2 separate regions of the Homo sapiens genome follow, and region 2 is linked to region 1. The links are contacts of gene promoters, found by promoter capture Hi-C in human tissues and cell types (Jung and others, 2019). All regions are on one chromosome and are shown on one strand. The core of a region is centred on a gene start or on the middle of the fragment in contact, and the rest is flanking DNA. Distances in the headings are between cores, read along the strand shown. Region 1 overlaps GRB2 (growth factor receptor bound protein 2). Region 2 holds the start of MYO15B (myosin XVB).

Region 1 (4,774 bases), core at 1,606-4,105:
AGTCTCCACACTGCATTAAAATTACTAATGAGACAAATTGCAGTTTTCCAGAGGTTCATGTTTCCATTTCTCCTTCCTTGGCTTTCCTGCATTTTTAGCTCCAGTCAAAATTCTATTTATTATGTATCAACTTTTATAAAATGCTTGGCTTTGAAAAGTATAATTAAAAGACAAAGATCTGAAATTAATAGTGGGTTTTTAGCTATCTATCATGCATTAAGAAATCAAGTGACCAGGTGTGGTGGCCTGTAATCCTAGCACTTTGGGAGGCTGAAGTGGGAGGACCACTTGAGCTCAGGAGTTCAAGACCAGCCTGGGCAACATAGCAAGACCCTGTCTCTACTAAAAATAAAAAAAATTAACCAGGTGTGGTGGTGCATGCCTGTAGTTCCAGCTACTTGGGACGCTAAGGTGGGAAGACTGCTTGAGCCCAGGAGGTGGAGACTACAATGAGCTATGTTTGCCCCACTGTACTCCAGCCTGGGTGACAGTGTGTGACCCTGTCTTTCTTTTTTTTTTTTTTAAGAAATCAAGTGTCTTCTTTATTTAATTCTTTTAAAATTTTTATTAGAATCATTTAATAGAAAAAGCATAAAATAAATTAGGTCATAATTCCCTCCTGATGCCCAGATAACAATTTTGAAATTAAATAAGCAAATAAATAAATGTCTCACTCATCATTAGAAAATTTATATGACAAACCTTCCCAAAGAAAATCACTATTCAGGTTTTCTATAACCTTTCAGAAAAAACGTTTAATGCATATAGCCATAGTTACTTTTATTGCAGTTCCTGGGTACCATAAAACATAACAATGAAACCATATTCAAAATTTTATAATGAAAGTAAGCAGGTACTTCATCTTTGGAGAGAAGAATGGCATTTCTGTTAAAGTGTACCTCTTTAGAAAGTGGCAGTAGCTCAGAGGATTTCTGTGCCAGGCTCTTAGAAAAGATACAATGATTAAGACTTTTCTCAAAATCATATTAAAGCTAATCAGAATAGATTGTGAACCGAAATTTGTGTGAATTTTCCAAAACATTGTGCTGAAGTAGTCCACGTCATATATCCCAGTGAATTTGTAACTAATGGCCTCATTTAATGCTAGAAGTGAGAACTGGTAGACCGTACAAGCCTTCCCTTAATTAATTGGTTCGTCTCCTTCTATACTTAGGTTACCAGTACAGAAGAACTAATACTGTAGTTGTTCGTAAACTTGGAGAAAGTCACACTGTATCTGCTCAGAGGCCTGTCCAATCTGCCATGTTTAAGCTTGTACTAGAACTACACCCACCTGAACAGTTGTTACCTTTAAAGTTCTTAGTAGTAATTTTCATATTTAGCTATGAGTTTGTTAGTGTTGTACGTTCATGTGTGAAATTTCTATATGTTTTTCTCTCACTTCATCCCTTCCCTGTTAGATATTAAAGGCCTGGCAAAAAGGACATGCCTCTCACCCGCATATCCTCAGGTGACCACATGAAAAATTATTCTTGTGTAACTTGCTTTTGGGTTTGGGTGTTTGTTTGTTTGTTTGTTTTTTGAGACAGTCTCACTCTGTTGCCCAGGCTGAAATGCGGTGGCGAGATCTCAGCTCACTACAACCTCCGCCCTCCTGTGATTCTCCTGCCTCAGCCTCCCAAGTAGCTAGGATTACAGCTGCCCACCACCACGCTCAGCTCATTTTTGTATTTTTAGTAGAGACGGTGTTTCACCATGTTGGTCAGGCTGGTCTCGAACTCCTGACTGCAGGTGATCCTCCCCCCCACCTCGGCCTCCCAAAGTGCTGGAATTACAGGCGTGAGCCACTGCACCTGGCCTGGGTTTGGGATTTATATTGTCAACTGAAACTAAGACTATTGAGGCAGAAATGATTTCATAAAGGTTTATTGGAAGGCCTGGCAAATGAGAATCGACCTGGGAAGACACACCAGCAGACTTGGGGGTTGTTCTGAAGTCTGTCACAAGGTGAAAGATGTTTTTGTTTTGCTGTTTGTTTCTTCGTGGGTTGTTTTCTTTTTTAGAGTCTTACTCTCTTGCCCAGGCTAGAGTGTAGTGTCATGATCTTGGCTCACTGCAACCTCTGCCTCCCGGGTTCAAGCAGTTCTACCACCTCAGCCTCCCTAGTAGCTGGGACTACAGGCGTGTGCCACCATACCCGGCTAATTTTTGTACTTTTAGTAGAGACAGGGTTTTGCCATGTTGGCCAGGCTGGTCTCTAACTCTTGACCTGAAGTGATCCACCTGCCTCAGCCTCCCAAAGTACTGGGATTACAGGCGTGAACTACCACACCCAGCCTTTTTTTTTTTTTTTTTTTTTTTTTTTCTGAGACAGGGTCTCGCTCTGTTGCCTGGGCTGGAGTGCAGCCTCAACTTCCTAGGCTCAAGCACTTCATCCACTTCAGCCTCCCGAGTAGCTGGGACAGCAGGTGAGCACCACCATGCCCAGCTAACTTTTTGTATTTTGTAGAAACAAGATCCCGCCATGTTGCCCAGGCTGATCTCGAACTCATGGCCTCAAGCAGTCCTCCTGCCTTGACCTCCCAAAGTGTTGGGATTACAGGCATGAACCACTCTGCCTGGCCACTTTTTGTTTGCAATAAACATGGGGTCTCATTCTGTCACCCCAGGCTGGAGTACGGTGGCCCCACCATAGTTCATTGCAGCCTCGAACTCCTGGGCTCAAGTGATCATCTCACCTCAGTCTCCTCAGTAGCTGGGACTACAGATGCGCACCACCACACCCTGTATTATATTTAAAAATGTAACTTTTAATATTTTTTTTTTGTAGCGGGGGGTCACTATGTTGCCCAGGCTGGTCTCGAGTGATCCTCCCATCTCAGCCTCCCAAGTAGCTCGGATTATAGATGTGAGTCACTGGGCCCAGCTATGAAGGTCTGTCTTTATGTTTTTGAGACAGGGTCTGGCTCTCTTACCCAGGCTGGAGTGCAGAGGTACAATCATGGCTCAGTACAGCCCCAACATTCCAGGCTCAGTTGATCCTCCCACCCTAGTCTCTGGAACTACAGGTATCCACCACCATGCCCAACTAGTTTTTGTTTGTTTGTTTGTTTTGTTTTGTTTTGTAGGGATGGAGTCTCATTATGTTGCCCAGGCTTGTCTCAAACTTCTGGGATTAAGGGATCCTCTCACCTTGGCCTCCCAAAGTGCTGGGATTACAGATTACAGGTGTAAGCCACCTTGCCTGGCCTGTGAAAGGTTTTTAGGAAAGTTTAAAAGAAGGAAGGGTACTCCTCCTCATACCAGAGTTGTCTTTTCATTGGATGGTACAATATGTAAGTTATAATCGTTGGTTACAAATTATGTTATACAGGCTAAAAATGTCTATGTGCAAGACAATCAGTAGAAGTTCATGCTTCACTAATCTTTTTTTTTTTTTTTTGAAACAGAGTCTCCCTCTGTTGCCCAGGCTGAAATGCAGCAGTGCAGTCTCAGCTCACTGCAGCCTCCACCTCCCGCATTCAAGAGATTTTCTTGCCTCAGCCTCCTGAGTAGCTGGGATTACAGGAGCATGCCACCAGGTCGGGTTAAAAAATTTTTTTTTTTTTTTTTTTTTTTGAGACAGAGTCTCTGTCTGTCACCCAGGCTGGAGTGCAGTGGCACAATCTCGGCTCACTGCAACGTCTGCCTCCCAGGTTCAAGCAATTCTCCTGCCTCAGCCTCCCAAGTAGCTGGGACTATATAGGCGCATGCCGACACGCCTGGCTGATTTCTTGTATTTCAATAGAGATGGGGTTTAACCGTGTTGCCTAGGCTGGTCTCAAACTCCTGAGCTCAGCCAATCCGCCTGCCTTGGCCTCCCAAAGTGCTGGGATTACAGGCGTGAGCCACTGCGCTCATGCAGGCCCCGGTAATTTTTTTTTTTTTTTTTTTTTTCTGAGACGGAGTCTTGCTCTGTCGCCCAGGCTGGAGTGCAGTGGCGCAATCTTGGCTCACTGCAACCTCTGCCTCCTGGGTTCACGCCATTCTCCTGCCTCAGCCTCCCGAGTAGCTGGGACTACAGGCGCCCACCACCACGCCCGGCTAAATTTTTGTATTTTTAGTAGATACAGGGTTTCACCGTGTTAGCCAGGATGGTCTCGATCTCCTGACCTCGTGATCCACCTGCCTCTGCCTCCCAAAGTGTTGGGATTACAGGCTTGAGCCACTGCGCCCGGCCAGTCCCCAGTACTTTTTGTATATTTGTAGAGACGAGGTTTCACCATATTTGCCAAGATGGTCTCAAACTCCTAGCCTCAGTTAATCTGCCTGCCTCGGCCTCCCAAAGTGTTGGGATTACAGGTGTGAGCCACTGTGCCCGGCTGATTTCTATTTTCATTGTAGTTGTAGAACATACTTTGTATGATTTTAATACTTTCAGATTTATTGGGGCTTGTTTTATGGCCTACCATCTGGTTTGTCCTGAGAATGTTCTCCTGTGCGCTTGAGATAGATTTTTATTCTGCTGTTGTTGGGTAGAGTCTTCTATAGATGTTGTTAGATCTATTGGTTAATTACTTTCTCTCTTTTTTTTTTCCTGAAGATTGTGTTCAAATGGATTTAACTACCATGAAATTCATCATAATTCATAATCAGCAATTACAGGAAAGAATAATGTGAGCTTTTGTGGATTTGTATCCAGTTGAGAACATGAAAGATCAGCCATAGAATGTGATGTGATGATTGGCATAAGAAGTATAGTGATAGAATTATGTAGATCAGGCTAGCTGGCTCACATCTGTATTCCCAGCACTTTGGGAGGCTGAGGCAGGAA
Region 2 (2,500 bases), core at 1-2,500, 210 kb before region 1:
GGGTCCTCCGGCCCCGCTCCTGCTGCGGCTCCCGCTTCGCCCTCGCCTGCCGCCGCTGGCACCTGCCCCACCGCCTTTCCGACCTGGTGGCGCGGAGCCCGGGCCGTCGAGGCCTGCATTGTTTCTGGCTCGGCGCCCCGCTGCGCCCGGTTGTCGCTCGCGTCCTTGGCCGGCCCAGTGTCCCGAGGAGCCCGCGAGCTGTCCTCGAAGGTCCTGGAGGCCATAGCTGCCCGAGAGCCCCGTCCAGGTCCGGTCCCCAGCGGACTCGAGTCGGAGTCCCCGCCGGAATGCTCGCTGGCTCCCAGGGGCCCCGTCCCCGACGACCCTTCCCGGCCCCGGGTATCTGCGTGGGGCCAGTCGCTGTCCAGGCCGTCGCTGCTTGGCTCCAGCGCTGACTCCGGCCCGGTTTTTGTCCCTTCCGAGCCCATGTCCGTAGGCTCCGGCGTGGGCCGCAGCTCCCGGGCTGTGCCGCGCTGGCTGCCGCTCTCCTGGGCCTCGCGGGTTTCGCTGTCCGGACAGGAGCTGCCTCCGTCCCCACCCGACGTGTCCCCATTGAGGCTCCTGGGCGTCCGGCGGCCCCGCCGAGCCGAGGGCCCCTTATCTTTCCGCTTCCTCCTACGGCGGCCGCCCAGCTCTTCTCCTCCGGAGAGGCTTCCCTCCTCCAGGCGCCCCCCGCGGCCGCCCCTGGGCCCGCGTCCCTGACGCTGCGCGTTGCTTTGCCTCTCCTGGGCTTTCGGGGACAGCCCAGCCCCTGGGCGTCTGCAGCCGCCGTTCCCCTCTGCAGTGGGCTTCCTGCGGCCACCAGGGGTTCCCTGGCCCCCGGCGGTGGCAGGCTCGGCCGCCGGTTTCGCCCTGTCCGCCTGCCCGCGGTCGGAACGGCGTTCCCGGCTGGGCGCGCCATCCGCGCTGGCCGACCCCGACTCCTGCTCCCCTGAGGCCGGCCTCCCGGGCCTCTCCAGGCGCTGGGGCGCTTTGCGCTGGTTCCTGCCCATGGCTGGCCCAAAGGAGACGGGCTTCCCGACGCCCAGGTCCTTTCCCCTCCCCGGGGATTTGGCCTCCCGCGGTGACCTTCTGTGCAGTGCACCACCCGGCTCTGCTCTCGCAGGGGCTACAGGCTCTACTCCCCGAGGTGCCCGCCTTACAGGACCATCAATAATGCAGAAGGCGGCGGGTCCTGACCCCCTCGGCCAACAATGGAATAGAGGCGCCCAGGAAACAGGAGACGCTACAGCTGCGGACAGGGCAACAGTGCCGCCGGGAGGCGCTGCCAGCCAGGCCAGCCTCGCACCGCGCCAGACTGAGGGGGTCCATGCTCCACTCCCACCTCAGTGCTTGCCCAGCAAGGAAGGGCCCAGAGAACCTGTCTGGACTTCTTCCTTCTGAGGGTTCCAAGGGACTGGGGCCAGGCCCACCCTGGCACACGGCAGCACTCCATGAGTCGCTAGGGTTTTTGTTCTTTTCAATTGTGGAATAAATACAATTTACCGAAAAGTACATAAAACATAAATGTACATCTTGAACTGGTGTAAAACATGCCTGTCTACCTCCTTGGAGTTGTGGAACAGAACCACACCCCATACATTCCTGATTGCCCCAATGTGTGTGTTTTTAAAATATCTATTTTTAAAACAGGTAATACATTCACATAATTCAAACATCCAAACATTACAAGATAAAAGTCTCCCATTCCTGACCCTCAGCCTATGTACTCAGTGTTCCCCTGAGGTTACCCATTTCTGTATTTCCTTGCAAAATTTTCCAGGTTGGCCGGGCGCGGTGGCTCACGCCTGTAATCCCAGCACTCTGGGAGGCCAAGGAGGGCGGATCACGAGGTCAGGAGATGGAGACCATCCTGGCTAACATGGTGAAACCCCCGTCTCTACTAAAAAATACGATAAATTAGCCGGTCGTGGTGGGGGGCGCCTGTAGTCCCAGCTACTCGGGAGGCTGAGGCAAGAGAATGGCATGAACCCAGGAGGCAGGAGAGAATGGCATGAACCCAGGAGGCAGAGCTTGCAGTGAGCTGAGATCACACCACTGCACTCCAGCCTGGGTGACAGCATTTTGTTTGTCTCAAAAACAAAGAAACAACAACAAAAACTTTCCATGCAGAGAAAAGCAAATATTATATTTTTCCCCTTTAGCACAAGTGGTAGCTTATGTAGCTCCGGGGTCTCCACTTTGCCTTTTTCACTTAACAATGTAATCTGGTGATTTCATAATAATACCATAAAAAGCCAGCCTGCCTTCCTCCCTTCTCTCCTCCCTCTCTTCCTTGCAAATAAATGCACCATGGTTGAACCAATTCCTTATTGATGGGTTTCTACATCCAAAGTGGATCCTGGCCAAGTGAGGTGGCTCATGCCTGTAATCCCAGCATTTTGGGAGGCCGAAGTGGGTGGATCACCTGATGTCAGGAGTTCGAGATCTGCCTGGCCAACATGGTGAAACCCCATCTCTACTAAAAATACAAAAATTACCTAGGTGTGGTGGCACATGC

What was found. The method cuts DNA at HindIII sites, captures the fragments that hold promoters and counts their contacts. A contact is called where the count stands out against the background at its distance.
Region 2: the fragment with the promoter of MYO15B here is called in contact with a fragment that was not itself captured in region 1 in 2 of the 25 tissues and cell types used here (mesenchymal stem cells and spleen).

Annotation. Positions count from the first base shown.
Region 1 is chr17:75,375,150-75,379,923 of GRCh38, reverse strand. All of the region lies in intron 2 of GRB2 (growth factor receptor bound protein 2), which reads left to right. Among named protein-coding and RNA genes, the nearest start is that of GRB2, 28 kb to the left of the region's middle. The HindIII fragment of the contact is 7,732 bases long and covers 1-4,774 here.
Region 2 is chr17:75,586,550-75,589,049 of GRCh38, reverse strand. It overlaps MYO15B (myosin XVB), which reads right to left and starts at 1,250. Exons shown (of 64, transcript NM_001395058.1): 1 at 1-1,250. The coding sequence starts at 992. RefSeq lists a silencer at 19-148 and enhancers at 1-600, 1,029-1,098, 601-1,434. The HindIII fragment of the contact is 22,601 bases long and covers 1-2,500 here.